Regions from separate parts of the Homo sapiens genome. Here region 1 is linked to region 2. Evidence: promoter capture Hi-C in 16 types of primary human blood cells and fetal thymus (Javierre and others, 2016). All regions are on one chromosome and are shown on one strand. The core of a region is centred on a gene start or on the middle of the fragment in contact, and the rest is flanking DNA. Distances in the headings are between cores, read along the strand shown. Region 1 overlaps LOC124901144 (a long non-coding RNA gene). Region 2 holds the start of FGFR4 (fibroblast growth factor receptor 4).

The links. Contacts are between HindIII fragments. The CHiCAGO score rates a contact against its expected background, and 5 or more counts as called.
Region 1: a contact is called between a fragment that was not itself captured here and the fragment with the promoter of FGFR4 in region 2, in 1 of 17 cell types (endothelial precursors). The highest score is 5.6, in endothelial precursors.

Annotation. Positions count from the first base shown.
Region 1 is chr5:176,664,289-176,671,337 of GRCh38, reverse strand. LOC124901144 (a long non-coding RNA gene) reads right to left here. Exons shown (of 2, transcript XR_007059072.1): 2 at 3,811-4,661. Among named protein-coding and RNA genes, the nearest start is that of TSPAN17, 20 kb to the right of the region's middle. RefSeq lists a silencer at 4,728-4,954. The HindIII fragment of the contact is 1,963 bases long and covers 783-2,745 here.
Region 2 is chr5:177,081,281-177,088,401 of GRCh38, reverse strand. FGFR4 (fibroblast growth factor receptor 4) reads right to left here and starts at 1,487. Exons shown (of 18, transcript NM_213647.3): 1 at 1,325-1,487. RefSeq lists an enhancer at 971-1,421, silencers at 1,117-1,576, 1,827-1,876 and a promoter at 1,387-1,606. The HindIII fragment of the contact is 20,491 bases long and covers 1-7,121 here.

The sequences.
Region 1 (7,049 bases), core at 515-3,014, 420 kb after region 2:
TTTGAGGTTAGGAGTTCAAGACCAACCTGGTCAACATGGTGAAACTCCATCTCTACTAAAAATACAAAAAAAAAAAAAAAAAAAAAAAATTAACCAGGTGTGGTGGCAGGTGCCTGTAATCCCAGCTGCTTGGGAGGCTGAAGCAGGAGAATCACCTGAACCTGGGAGGCAGTTGCAGTAAGCCAAGATTGCACCAGTGCACTGCAGCTTGGGCAACAGAGAGAGACTCTGTCAAAAAAAAAAAAAAAAATAGTAGTCAAAGTCAGTTTTTGGTACCAGGACTGGCCAAAACATGGACAATGCCCCAAGTTGGTCCCCAGAGCATTGGGACTTCCTCTGTCATCTCCAAGATCTGCAACAGTGCATCTGCCTCTCCTCCATCAGGGCAGGGGCCTGTCTGGGCCCCTCTCCTCCCCTGATTTCCAGCCTCAGGGACAGTGCCGGGACCCACAGGAGATGGGGTCAATGACAATGAATGAAACTGTGGAAATGGTACCCATTTTAGAGATGAGGAAGATGAGCCCCAGAGGACAAGCAACAACTCAGCACCCAGATCTTCGTCCTCGTTCCCCGGACCTGGGGCTCTTCCCTCTGCATCAGTTGCTGTCAAGTACCAGGCTGTCCCCAGTCCAGGGCTTCCTTGAGCCAACAGATGGGCAGGAGGTGGAGTCCAGGGGAAGAGCCTGCTAAGAGACAAGCTGGTGCTGAGGCCTCAGGGGCTCGAGGGAGGGGAGCATCCACTGTGGCATGCAGGGATCGCTGAGCGCAAGCAACGGAAAGCTTCTGCGAGGCTTTGGGAGGTTGTCAGGCAGCTCACTGGATGGCTGGGACACAGAAACCTGGAAAGGGTGCAGAGCAAAGGCTGCCTAGAGCCTGCTCTGGCCATTTCTCAGTCCCTGTGTCAGTTCTCTGCACAGGGATCAAAGCCCCACCATAGAGAAGGGCCAGACAAGCCAAGCCCTCAGCATGTGGAGCTCCTCCAGAGAGTGTAAGGCCTTGGTGGCAGCTCATCCCCTGCAAATGCTAGAGGAGGATGAGCCCCCAAAGCAAAAGCCGGTGGCGTCACCTCCAGCAGGGGAATGTATTCAGGGCAGCTGAAGCCCTAGAAGCCAGCCAGCCAGCCCACCCAGCCTGTCAGTCTTGGCTGTAGCCCTGCTCAGCCTGTGAAGGGCTGCAGTGGGGCTGGGGTGCAGCCCGCTGCTGTGGCTCAGGCCCCATAATCACAGGCTTGGAGCTCAGGGATCTCAGAGGGGACTGAATCTGCACTTTGCAGCTGAGGACCTCTAGGCCCCTGGAGAGGCAATGACAGAGCCAAGGCCCTCCCACCCACCATGGGGCCACTCTGAATAGGGACCCCCAGGCCTCCCCCAGGGAAGAGATTGTGCGCCAGTGCCAGTTGCTGTGAGCCATGTGATATTCAGCAGGCCACCATAGCTCTGCTCCGAGCCCAGCTCCTTATGCATAAAATGAGGCTGCTTTGCAGGGCTACTGCAAGCATTAAGCAAGTAATAAATGTATGTGCTCCTAAGCTGACACTTAGAATGGAAATGAAAACATATGTCCACACATGGATTTGTACACGAAAGTTCACAGCAGCTTTGTTCATGATCACCAAAAACTGGAAAGAACCCAAATGCTCCATCAACTGCTGAGTGAATGGAGAAGCTGGCGTAGCCCCACAATGGAATACTCCTCAGCAACAAAAAGAACAACAGGGATGAATCTCAGCAGCGTCATGCTAAGTGACAGAAACCGGACTCAAAAGGTGGCATCTGTATGACTGCATATATGACCGGCTCTCATGCCTGGCAGTAATGTTCTGTGACATTCCCGGGAACACTGAATTCACTGGTATGGAAGCATTGCTCCCAGGGAAATGCAGAGTTAGGTTCCTGAGATCCTCTGCTCACAAGATTTTGGTCACCTGACCAATGCATACATCTGTGGCATGTGTTCTTATGTTTAAAGACACCTTATTTAATATAGAGGCTGTTGATCTGTGAGCATGAACTCATGGCCACAGAACTATAACTCATGACTGAGCAAAGCTCATCCAACACATGCATTTTCTCTGTAAGACACATCGCAGCCTTCTAGCATCAAGGAGCACCAGCCAGGGCCTCACTCTGATGCTTGAGGGCCATTTTCAACAGCGAAATCCCCAACAAAAAGTACAAAAATGCGGGAAAGGTGGCCCTGAGTAGACGGGGGAAAGTCGCTCGTTGAGTTTGACCTCCGCAGGAAATGTGTGCATCCACAAACGAAACTTCTCAGTGCTCTGCTGATGTCCAGGAATGATCACAAAAGTGCCACGAGGATTGATCTGGGGGTTACAAATAAATTTTTGCAAGTCATCAACTTCACAAATATGGAATCCGTGAATACTGAGGATTGACTATATGCAAAACTTTAGAGAAAAAAATAGAAATCTAACCCGCAGTGACAGAAAGCAGCTCAATGTTTGTTTGGCAGCAGGGTAGGAGCAGAGATTGACATAGAAGGACCACAGGGCACCTTCTGGGTGATGGAAATGTTCTCTATCTTGGTGGTTACACAGGGGAATAAATTTGTAAAACCCACTGAAATATGCACCTAAAGTGTGGAGACTTCGATGTATGTAAATTAGACTCAATAAATTGACTTTACAAAAACTCCTTAGCATGATGCCTGATCATTCCTCCACTCCTCTAGGGATCTCGGGATCAGCTCCCTTGGGAGGGGCGCTATGGGACAGAGGAAGAAGCTTGGGCTCCATCTGGAAGTGGTTTGCATCTCGCCCCCACCCCCGAGACAGGGCATGTCTGACCCAGGCCTTCAGCTTCTCCCTTCTTTCCCACTATGTCCATCAGGACTTTCAGTTGAAGATGACAGAAACCCAGCTCGGACCCCCTTAGACAAAACAATGGCTCTGCCATAAGATATGGCTACACCTACAGCTCAAGTGCCATCACCAAGCCAAGGTTGCCCACCTTCTCTGGACTCTATGTTTCTCTGTCAGCCTCACTCTGGGACCACAGGCAGGAAGGTGGTCACCAACAGCTTTTAGAACTCCAAGGGAGGGAGCGGAGCCTCTCTGTCCCAGTGAGGACCCAGGAGCAGGCATCCTTTGTGCCTCTCCACAGCCAAGGCCATGGAATGTGCTGATGTCAGGCCTGGGTCCTATGCCACTCCCTTTGGAGAACAGAAATCAAGGAGGGAGGGATTCTCCCCAAAGGAAAATCTAGGTGCCGCCACCAGAAGCTGGGGGAGAGATGGGGACCAGGCAGATGCAGTAGGTACCCGACACACAGCTTGCCCTGAGCCGGGGCTACCTTTCCTGAGTGTGTCATAGACACATCAAGAACCCAAACCTGGCAGGGAATAAACGAGAAGTGGGAATTAAACTCAATATTCTAGAACCCCATGGAAAACAGCAACATATTCTGACGTTCAGTATCCCAGGGCAAAGAGTGAAAAGACTTCCTCTTCTCCCTGCAGCTCCCCCTGGCTGGAAGACACCGCCTGGCTTGTTCCCCCAGCCCCGTGCTCCCACTTCAGAATCCAGGGGCCATTGAGTCCTCTGCCACAGAGACCCCACCGACCCAAACATCATGCCCCTGATTTTGGATCAACACCAATTATTTTGAAAACAATTTTCCTGGCATCCCAAGGGCTCTCTCATGCTTCTCTGGTCTTATCGTGCTTCTATCTTTTTGGCAGGTCCATGACCAATGGAACTTCTTGACGACCACTGAATATTTCAGACTTTAGCTACTAAAGGATCCATTCTGCTCTGTTACCTTCAAGAACCTTCTTTAAGGATACAATGAATTTTCCTCCAATTTAATAAAATTTATTAGGTATCTGCTTAATTGGAAACAAGAGGACAGAGATGGTTCCTGCCCTTGTCTCCTCCCTGCTAATTTTTATCCTTCTTATTTATTTTCTTGTGTTACTGCATTGGCTAGGACTCTATGACGGTGCTGAATTGTAGCACTGAGTCAGCATCCTTGTCTTGTTCCTGCTGCTGATGTTTCAACATGAAGTATAAAGTTTCTTCCATATGTCTGATATGTGCCCTTTATCAGGTGAAAGAAATTTCCTTTTATTTCTAGTTGCTAAGAAATTGTGATTTTTCTTTTTTTTTAGACAGAGTTTTGCTCTAGTCTCCCAGGCTGGAGTGCAATAGTGCGATCTCGGCTCACTGCAACCTCCGCCTCCCAGGTTCAAGCGATTCTCCTGCCTCAGCCTCCTGAGTAGCTGGGAATTACAGGCATGCGCAATCATGCCCAGCTAATTTTTTTTTTTAAATAGAGGCGGGGTTTCATCATGTTGGACAGGCTGGTCTTGAACTCCTGACCTCAGGTGATCTACCTGCCTCAGCCTTCCAAAGTGCTGGGATTACAGGCGTGAGCCACCACGCCTGGCGATTTTTTTTAAATTATAAATTCCTGCTGTAATTTATCAAATGTTTTTTCAAGATCATATTTTACTAGTATCTGTAATCCAAACAGTATTCTATTTCTTTCCTCTGACAAAGGGACGAGTCTGCTGTGGTCCTTTCATGTGAGACCCTCCCCTGGTTTGCCAGCGCCTGTCCCGTGAGAGTCCAGGGCACGCCTCAGCCCACAGGATCTGTGGCAGCAACATCCAACTTGGGTATTTGATAGCGAGGTCAGCACCTATGACAAAAATCAAAAGAACAGTCAAGATCACCCTTGAAAATTGCTTAAATTGCCCATAAAAAAATACGTGGGTTTTAGGTCTCAGGCCCTGAAAGAATTCTAGAGCGTCCCTGCCTGCTGGGCTGGCTGCCTCCTGCTTCAGTACTGAGCTTTATTGTATAACTTTAAGCTCAGGCCGGGCGCCGTGGCTCACGCCTGTAATCCCAGCACTTTGGAAGGCCAAGGTGGGAGGATCGCTGGAGTCCAGCAGTTCGAAATAAGCCTGGGCAACATAGTGAGACCCCATCTCTACTAAAAAAAAAAAAAAATGAGTCAGGCATGGTGGCACCTGCCTGTGGTCCCAGCTACTCGAGAGCCTGAGGTGGGAGGATCACTTGAGCCCAGGAGTTTGAGGTTGCAGTGAGCCATGATCTCACCACTGCACTCCAGCCTGGGCAACAGAGCAAGATCCTGTTGCAAAAAAACAAAAACAAAAACTTTAACACTCATGAATAGGTTTCTTATTTGCTGGGAGCTGGGTTCTCAAGTCAGCTAGAAGTGGGACGAGACAGGTCACTGAGCCATGCATGCAGCAGGGGCCGGATAGCCTCTCCTAGAGTGGCCAGGAAGGCCTCTTTGTGTCCTCTGCATCTGGCCAAGGATGGCCCAGACTCCCAGGGCCTCCCCACTCCCATTTGCAGGCACAGTGATCAGGCAGTGATGGAGTCTTCCCAAGCCTGGCTTCCCTTGGGTCCTCAGGCCAAGTTGAGCCAGACAGGACCTCACTCTCAGCTTTTGTGTATGGTCCACACCACTTAGGAAGGGGGTCCCGCCCACTGACCCCTTAGACCTGGCTCTGGCCTTGACTGTGACTTTCCTTGCTTTAATGCCACCCATTTCTCAGCTCATCTCTTCCTCACAGGCCACACTGCAGCCGCAATGGCCCCTTCTTTTTCCTGAAATGCCCGAGCCCATTCCTACCTCAGGACCTTTGCACTGCCTGTTCCCTTTGCCTGGAATGATTTTTTTCCTCACCACACAGGTTTTAGCCCACATGCTGCCTCCTCAGACAGACGTCCCTGGAAATCTTCTTCAACTAGCACCTCTGTTCCATCACCCTGTCACATAACCGTGTTTACTTTCTTCTGAGCGTGTATCATCATCTATGCCCCCCATCCCTGGAAGAAGATCTTGACTGTCTTGGCCACTTCATATGGGTACCAGTCCTTGGCATAGTGCCTGGTGCATAGTAAGCACTTGGTGTTGGTTGACTGACTAAACAATGGCATCCTGCCTGCCCCATGCTGCCAGGTTCAGCTCCGGAGTGTCTCCCTCCCTCCCCGACACTGACTCCCCTCCAACACTGCCTGCCTAACCTTGGGGTCCCGATGCTCATAGCCTTCCTGGATGCCACCCCAGAACTCCAGTTCCACTTCCTAGACTGGGCCCTATCCCCACGGCCTGCTCCCACCCCCATGAGCAGCTGAATTCCAGAGCTCCCCGCCTCCGCGCCGCATCCCCCTGTCTGATCATCCTGCCCCAGGACCCAGGTTGGCCAGCGGTCGAGGCAGCTGCAGGCGTCCCAGCTGCATGCGGGGCCTGGCTCTGCACATCTCCATCTGCCCACCTCTCCGCCCTGTGTGGGCCACCGGACGACCGTCCCTCGGCAGCACCTCCCGCCCCATTCATCCCCATTAGCCGCTGTCCACACTGGGCCTGAGGGAGATCAATTCCCAGCGCCAGCCACTGAGCCGTGTTAATGAGGATGTAAGCGCCCCTGCAGCTGGGGTGGGTGGGAGGGGCAGGAGGAGCCCAGGACACGGAGCAGGCCATGGGGGATTCCTCACTGAATGCTGGGGGTCAGGCTCCCTCTGGGGATGCTGGAAGATGCCCCCTGTAGGGCGGAGACCTTCTCCCAGCCCTCCCCCAGGAACTGCAGTTTAGCTCAAGCAGAGAAAGAGAGCAGAGGAAGAAACCTGGCTGGGGCTTAGGGACCAAAGGAGCAGGAGCCATGTGGCTTACTGTTGAGCAGAGGGGCCAGGCCAGGTACTCCTGCCTCCCACCCGTCTGAGCATTTCCTCAGGCCGGTCCCTCCACCAGGAGCACCCTCCTTGCCTCTACCCAACACACCACCGACCTGCAAGACTCCCAGACCACCAGCTCCCTTACCTCACACAGAACCACTCCAGCCCGGGGGCTCCCCACCCCTTGGAGCTCACTCTGGTAATTCTGACTATGCCAAATCGTACTGATCTGCATGAACACACGCTCAACCTCTCTCATAGGAGCCGTGCAAAGGAGAACCACAAAGAGAAACCATTTTCTTCCAACAGATTGACAAAGATGAACCAGGTGGGTGAATGCAGGGGGGACTCCGGCTGCTGCCAGCGGGAGGGCAAGGGTTCT
Region 2 (7,121 bases), core at 238-2,737:
TCGGCTCTTCAACCTTCATCTTCCAGCAGAGTTTTAAAAAACTACAAGTCGGCTGGGCGCGATGGTTCACACCTGTAATCCCAGCACTTTGGGAGGCCGAGGTGGGCGGATCACGAGGTCAGGAGATCGAGAACATCCTGGCTAACACGGTGAAACCCCGTCTCTACTAAAAATACAAAAAATTAGCCGGGCGCGGTGGCGGGCGCCTGTAGTCCCAGCTACTCGGGAGGCTGAGGCAGGAGAATGGCGCGAACCCGGGAGGCGGAGCTTGCAGTGAGCCGAGATCGCGCCACTGCACTCCAGCCTGGGCGACAGAGTGAGACTCCGTCTCAAAAAAAACAAAATAAAAAAATAAAATAAAATAAAAAAACAAACAAAAAAACCTGCAAGTCTGCCATGTCATGCCCCCCAGCTTGCAAGCCCTTAATGGCTACCTGTGCCCAGCAGGATCCAGCTCAACATCCTAGGGCTCCCTCTCTGCCGCTGCCTATCTCTTTGGTCACACCGTCTGCCCCTTCAGGAGCGCTGAAGCCATTGGCTTTCAAAACTGGGCACATGTGCTCTCTTGCCCATCCCTCTGTGCCCCTCATTGCTCTTCTCTACCTGACTCAGATACTGCTGTCTCTGGCCCACCTCAACTCTCGAATCCAGTCGGATCCTCCTTGGTAAAACTCCCTACCAAGCTCGGCTTGGCAGGGAGGGCAGCTCTTTGGGTACACAGCTTGGGCTGGGAGTGGGTGGGGAGGCCCGGGGAGTTTATTCCTACCCCAGGCTGCCCTGATATCAGAGTCCTTAGTCGAGTCACCCATGGCTGCTGACCGCTGACCGACCACCCCCCACGTGGGAATGGAGGGCCTGCCTTAGGCATCAGACAGTCCTGGGTTCTCCTTCAGCCTCCCGCACTCGCGCTGGAGGCCCCCGGGCACTAAGTGACTGAACTTTTCGGGGCCTCAGGTCCCTCATCTCTGCCGCCGGCGCGAAGACAGCCGCAGGGACAAGCGCGCTTGTCCTCCCCCACCCTTGCCGGGCCAGCCTGGGGGGAGGTGCGAATCAATGGGTCCCGAGGGTAGCTGCACAGGGCCAGCCTGCCCCCGCCTCGGTGGGCAATGAGTAACCAGCTCCGCGGCCGGGGTGCTCTTTGGACGGAGCGGGACAAAAGGCCCTGTGTGCACTGCGGGTTACTGATTTACCGCCCCCTCCACCCCCTGCCGCCCGGCGGACGCCCAGGTCCCCTGCGCCGGGAGGGGCAGTCCCCGTAGCCCCGCCGCCTCTCGCCCCCTGGCGGCTGGGAGCGCAGCCCGGGCCCACAAGGGTTCCGGCTCACCTCGAGCCTGCGTGACTCCGCGCCCAGCACAGGGTCCTGCTCACCTGGCTCCTCCTCACCTGGCTCCTCCGCCGCCTCACTCCCAGCTCCAGCCGGCCGCGACCCCTGCACGCGGCAGGGTCCGCAGACAGCCCGAGCGCTCCTCGGCCGGGAGCGAGGAATGTACCCGCGACGGCGGCGTGGCCGCGAGCGGCCCACCTCCTGTCCCACCCCGCCCCTCGGGCCCGCCCCCTCCTGCTCGGGCCCGCCCCTCCTTCCACGCCCCCCCCCCCCCCACCCGGGCCCGCCCACCTCCTGCCACACCCCCTCGGGCCCGCCCCGCCTAGACCAGCTCGAGCCGGAGAGAGGTGTGGCCAGGGGTGGCCAAGATCCCCGCCCACCTGGAGAGCCCCGCCCCCGACCCAGTCAGCCCACTCCCGGGACCCCGCCCCAGCCTATACACACACCCCTACACGCAACCCCCCTATACACACCCCATTCAGGCTCCGCCTCTTTCGCCCCACCCAGGCCCCAGGCCAGGCTCCTAAATTCTAGTCTACTACCCAGCTCTACTCCTTGCTTTTCACCCTTCAGGGAATGCCTGGCTCCCCTGTCTTCTGCGCAGTGCCGTGCAGCGGATAGGAGAACCCCTTCCTTCTGCTCCCTCATTTGTTCCCTGCGCAACCTGCGGAGTGATACTTACAACACAAATCTGACTGTGTCAGCCACTCCCTTAAATTTTCCTATAGATTCCCATAGCTCTTTATACATAGATTGCCATGACCCACGCCTCCTGGCTCCCACCCTGCTACTCCTGGGCAGTTTCACGTACCATTCTCTCTTCCTGGAATGGCCCTTGGTCTGGTTAATTTCATATTATTCTCAGCTCACTTCCTTCAGGAAGCCCTCTGGACTTGCAAGCTCCTCTTAGATGACGTCTCTACTGTGAGGATGGAGAAAGAAACAGGGTGAAGTGGTTCAGAGCACAGACTACAGGGCTGGACGTCATAGGCCCAGCTCTCAGCACCATCACACAAGGCCTCAGTCTTCACTGTCCTTTCAGTAAAACAGGCAAATGATAGTCTCACCCACAAGAGGTTGTTGCAAAAAGTAGACATGTTAGCAGTATGTGTAAGCCTGGCATGCAGCGCTTGCTTTGTAATACTAGCTGTAATTATTTAGGACCTGTTATTTCTTCAGCACGCTTGCCAGAATTGTAACTGAACAGTTAATTATGTAAATAGCTGTGGAATGGCCGGGCACAATGACGGGTGCCTGTAGTTCTAGTTACTAGGAGACTGAGGTAGGAGGACAGCTTGAATTCAGGAGTGTGAGGCCAGCCCTGGCAACATAGTTGCCCTGTCTCTATTTTTCAGTAGAGGAACTGTGTCCTCAGACCTCACCATTAGAGTTCAAGTGTCTGGCATACAGTAGGTGCTCCCAGATAGCTCCGTGCCCACCTGGCTCATGTTTGCCTCACCTGTAAGCACTTCTCTCCTGAGCATCTAGACTGTGGCCAAACCAGGAGGCCAGGCAGCCTCTGATCTCTGCCCATCCCTCACCTGAATCTCAAGCCTTCTCCTTCTCTTAAGGCACCTTGAGAGGAAGGGAAATGGGCTGGGTGCACCTGTGGTCCCAGCTACTTGGGAGGCTGAGGCCAGAGGATTGCTTGAGCCCAGGAAGTCGAGGCAGCAGTGAGCCGTGATCGCTCCACTGCACTGTAGCCTGGGCAACAGGCTATGGAGCGAGACCCTGTCTGAGGCTCAGGTCCTGGTTGTCCCCTCTAGCTAGTGTAGACCCTGTCTTAAGAAGCAACTTCCTTTCTCATTGTTACGCAGGCAAGTCTAGTTCTTTCCACCCTCACTCCCAAAGGGATAGTGGCATATCTTTGCATAACTGTAAGGCCCATTAAAGAGACTTAAAATTGTTTTTTTCTTTTTCTTCTTAAGCGAAAGAATGGTCTCCTCCCAAAGATAAATCAGAAAATAATTGAGGCCAGGCATGGTGGCTCATGCCTATAATCCCAGCACTGTGGGAGGCTGAATCGGGAGGATCGCTTGAACTCAGGAGTTCGAGGCCAGCCTGGGCAACATAGTGAGATCTCGTCTCTATTAAAAATATATATTAGGCTGGGCACGGTGGCTCACGCCTGTAATCTCAGCACTTTGGGAGGCTTAGGTGGGTGGATCACGAGGTCAGGAGTTCAAGACCAACCTGGCAAGATGGTGAAACCCCAGCTCTACTAAAAATACAAAAAAATTAGCCAGGCATGGTGGCATGTGCCTGTAATCTCAGCTACTAGGGAGGCTGAGGCAGAGAATTGCTTGAACCCGGGAGGTGGAGGTTGCAGTGAGCCGAGATCGTGCCATTGCACTCCAGACTGGGTGACAGAGTGAGACTTTGTCTCCAAAAAAAAAAAAAAATATATATATATATATATATGTGTGTGTGTGTGTGTGTGTGTGTGTCTGTGTGTGTCTGTGTGTCTGTGTGTATATACATACACACAGACACACCCACACATATATATGTATATTATAAATTTTTTTTTAATTGGTTATCTTTTAAAAACAATTTGTCCTGGTTCCCTTCTCTAGAGTCCTGCCTTGCTGGAGCTCCCAGGACAGATGAGGCTCCTGGCCCTGGGAGCTGCCTGCCCAGAGGGTACCTTGCCAGACCTCCCGGACTGCTGGAGGGGTTCAGCTCCCTGCCTCTGGCCCTCTGCTGGCTCCCCTTGTGAATGTGGTTGTGGGGGGAGACAGGGTGAGCCGCCAGCTGGAGCTGGACCCCACATGGCTTTCATTCACCTTCCCGGGCATTTCCTGAGTTTACCAGAGCCAAAGACAAACTAAAAGTTTTCATAGCTCAGGTCTTGCAACCTCCTTGTCTCCTGAGATGCGCAAATCCCTCAGATTTGCAACCCTCTGATGTCCCTAGGATATGTTCCCCATATCCCTTGTCTGCCTCCTCTCCCCGCACTCATAACCTTTCACACTGACCCTCCACAGAGGCTGATGCTCCCTCACAAAGTCATTCACTCATTCACTCATTCATCTGAATGATTATTTATTGAAGGTTCATTATGTGGCATCCACTGTTTTAAATCCTGGGGATAAAGCCCCGAATTGGACTCTTTTTCTTTTCTTTTCTTTGGGAGACAGTGTCTTGCTCTGTTGTCCAGGCTGGAGTGCAGTGGTGTGATCTTAGTTCACTGCAAGCTCTGCCTCCTGGGTTCAAGTGATTCTCCTGCCTCAGGCTCCTGAGTAGCTGGGATTACAAATGTGCACTACTACACCTGGCTAATTTTTATATTTTTAGTAGAGACAAGGTTTCACCATATTGACCAGGCTAGTCTCAAACTCCTGACCTCAAGTTATCTGCCCATGTCAGCCTCCTCAAATGCTGGGATTACAGATGTGAGCCACCTCACCTGGCCTGGACCCTACTTCTACCCTTCAAGGGGCTGCTGACATTGTAGTGGGGACAGACAGATAAGTAATCAGTTACAGCCTGGGAGATAAGCTGAGCCAGTCAGGGAGAGCACCTAAGCCTTTCACACTGTCTCACTCTCTTGCTGACACGCAATCTTTCACCAGTCACATTTGCAGTCTCTTTCTCAAAGACATTCAGACACGACTGGGCACAGTGGCTCACTCCTGTAATCCCAGCACTTTGGGAGTCTGAGGTGGGCGGATCACTTGAGGTCAGGAGTTCGAGACCACCCTGGCCAACATGGTAAAACCCCATCTCTACTAAAAATACAAAAATTGGCCAGGCATGGTGGCACACGCTTGTAATCCCAGCTACTGGGGTGGCTGAGGCAGGAGAATCACTTGAACCTGGGAGGCAGATGTTGCATTGAACCAAGATCACGCACTGCACTCTAGCCTGGGAAACAGAGCAAGACCCTGTCTCAAAAAAAAAAAAAAATACATTCAGACACACACACACACACACACACACACTCTCTCTCTCTCTCTCTCTCGCTTAGCAGAGGCAAGAGCCTGTCACCCTAAGATCCTGCTGTTAACCTGCCTCTGCCTCAGTTTCCCCACCCAGAAAGCCGTCATGCTCCAGCTTCCTCTTCTTCCTTTTTTTTTTTTTTTTTTTGTGGAGATGGAGCCTCGCTCTATTGCCCAGGCTGGAGTGCAGTGGCGTGATCTTGGCTCACTGCAACCTCCGCCTCCCAGGCTCAAGCAATTCTCCTGCCTCTCCTGCCTCAGCCTTCCTAGTAGCCGGGACTACAGGCGCCTGCCACCACACCCAGCTAATTTTTGTATTTTTGTAGAGACGGGGTTTCACCATGTTGGCCAGGCTGGTCTCGATCTCCTGACCTCAGGTGATCCACCCGTCTCGGCCTCCCAAAGTGCTGGCATTACAGGCGTGAGCAACGGCTCCCGGCTGCTCCAGCTTCTTTCTTCCTAGGAGTGTTGGGGGAAATGAACGTGTTCCTGTTCCTGAGCTCGTGACTCTTCAGCTCCCGTTACATGCCAGGCATCATGCTGGGTGTTGTACATGGGTTATATCCTTTAATTCTTCCACCAAGCCAAATGGCATAGGAATCCTTAGCTCTGATTTGTAGGTGAAGAAACAAGCTCAGGGAGATGGAATTACTTATTTGAGGTCATCTAGCAAGTGAATTGCAGAACTCGAACCCCTGTCTTCTGGGGCAAAGATGGAGAGCTCGGGATAACTCTCCAGAGTGGGATCATTGATGCTACTGCATCAGATGCTTTCTGTCTCCATCCTTAACTGTGGCCCGGGAAGGTGCAGATTCACCTGAAGGTGAGTGTGTTGGGGAGGGAGGTGTGGGGGCTGGGACTGAGCACTGCACTCCTTGACCTTTTAGCCAGCAGTCCTGAGGAGACACCAGGCCCAGGCAGGGGTTTGCAGACTCTGTGCCTCTGGAATGCTGGGCTGGGCCAGGAGGGTCTCCTGAGGCCAGGTCCTACCCCCCACCTGCCTGGGGGCAGAGTCATCGGGGGGTAGAGGGCAGACGTTGCCTGGTGCCAACGATGTTGCTCTTGGATGGCAGCCGGGCCCAGGGAACACTGGGGCTCTTGTGCAGAAGGGCTGCCACTAAAGCCGGCCCGGCCCCTGCCCAGGCCCCACTGCAGCCCGGGCCTGGCCCTAACTCTGGGCCCAGTCTTGTTCTTTTTTTTTTTTTTTACCCCCAAGATGGAGTCCTACTCTGTCATCCAGGATGGAGTGCAGCGGCGCAATCTCGGCTCACTGCAACTTCCGCCTGCCGGGTTCAAGCACTTCTCCCGCCTCAGCCTCCCGAGTAGCTGGGATTACAGGCGCGCACCACAATGCCCAGCTGACTTTTGTATCTTTTGGTAAAGACAAAAATCACCATCTTGGCCAGACTGGTCTCCAACTCCTGACCTCAGGTGATCTGCCCACTTCGGCCTGCCAATGTGCTGGGATTATAGGCGTGAGCCACTGCACCCTACCCAGTCTTGTTCTTTCTTCATTTTTTTATTTTACATTATTTTTTTTTTTGGTGATGAAGTTTCGCTCTTATTGCCCAGGCTGGAGTACAGTGGCGCAATCGCGGCTCACTGCAAACTCCGCCTCCCGGGTTCAAGCGATTCTCCTGCCTCAGCCTCCCAAGTAGCTGGGATTATGGGCATGCACCACCATGACTCGCTAATTTTTGTATTTTTAGTAGAGACAGGGTTTCATCATGTTGGCCAGGCTGGTCTCGAACTCATGACCTCAGGTGATCCACCTGCCTTGGCCTCCCAAAGTGCTGGGATTACAGCCATGAGCCATTCTGCCTGGCCTCTTTCTTCATTTATTCTCCTTCCTTCCT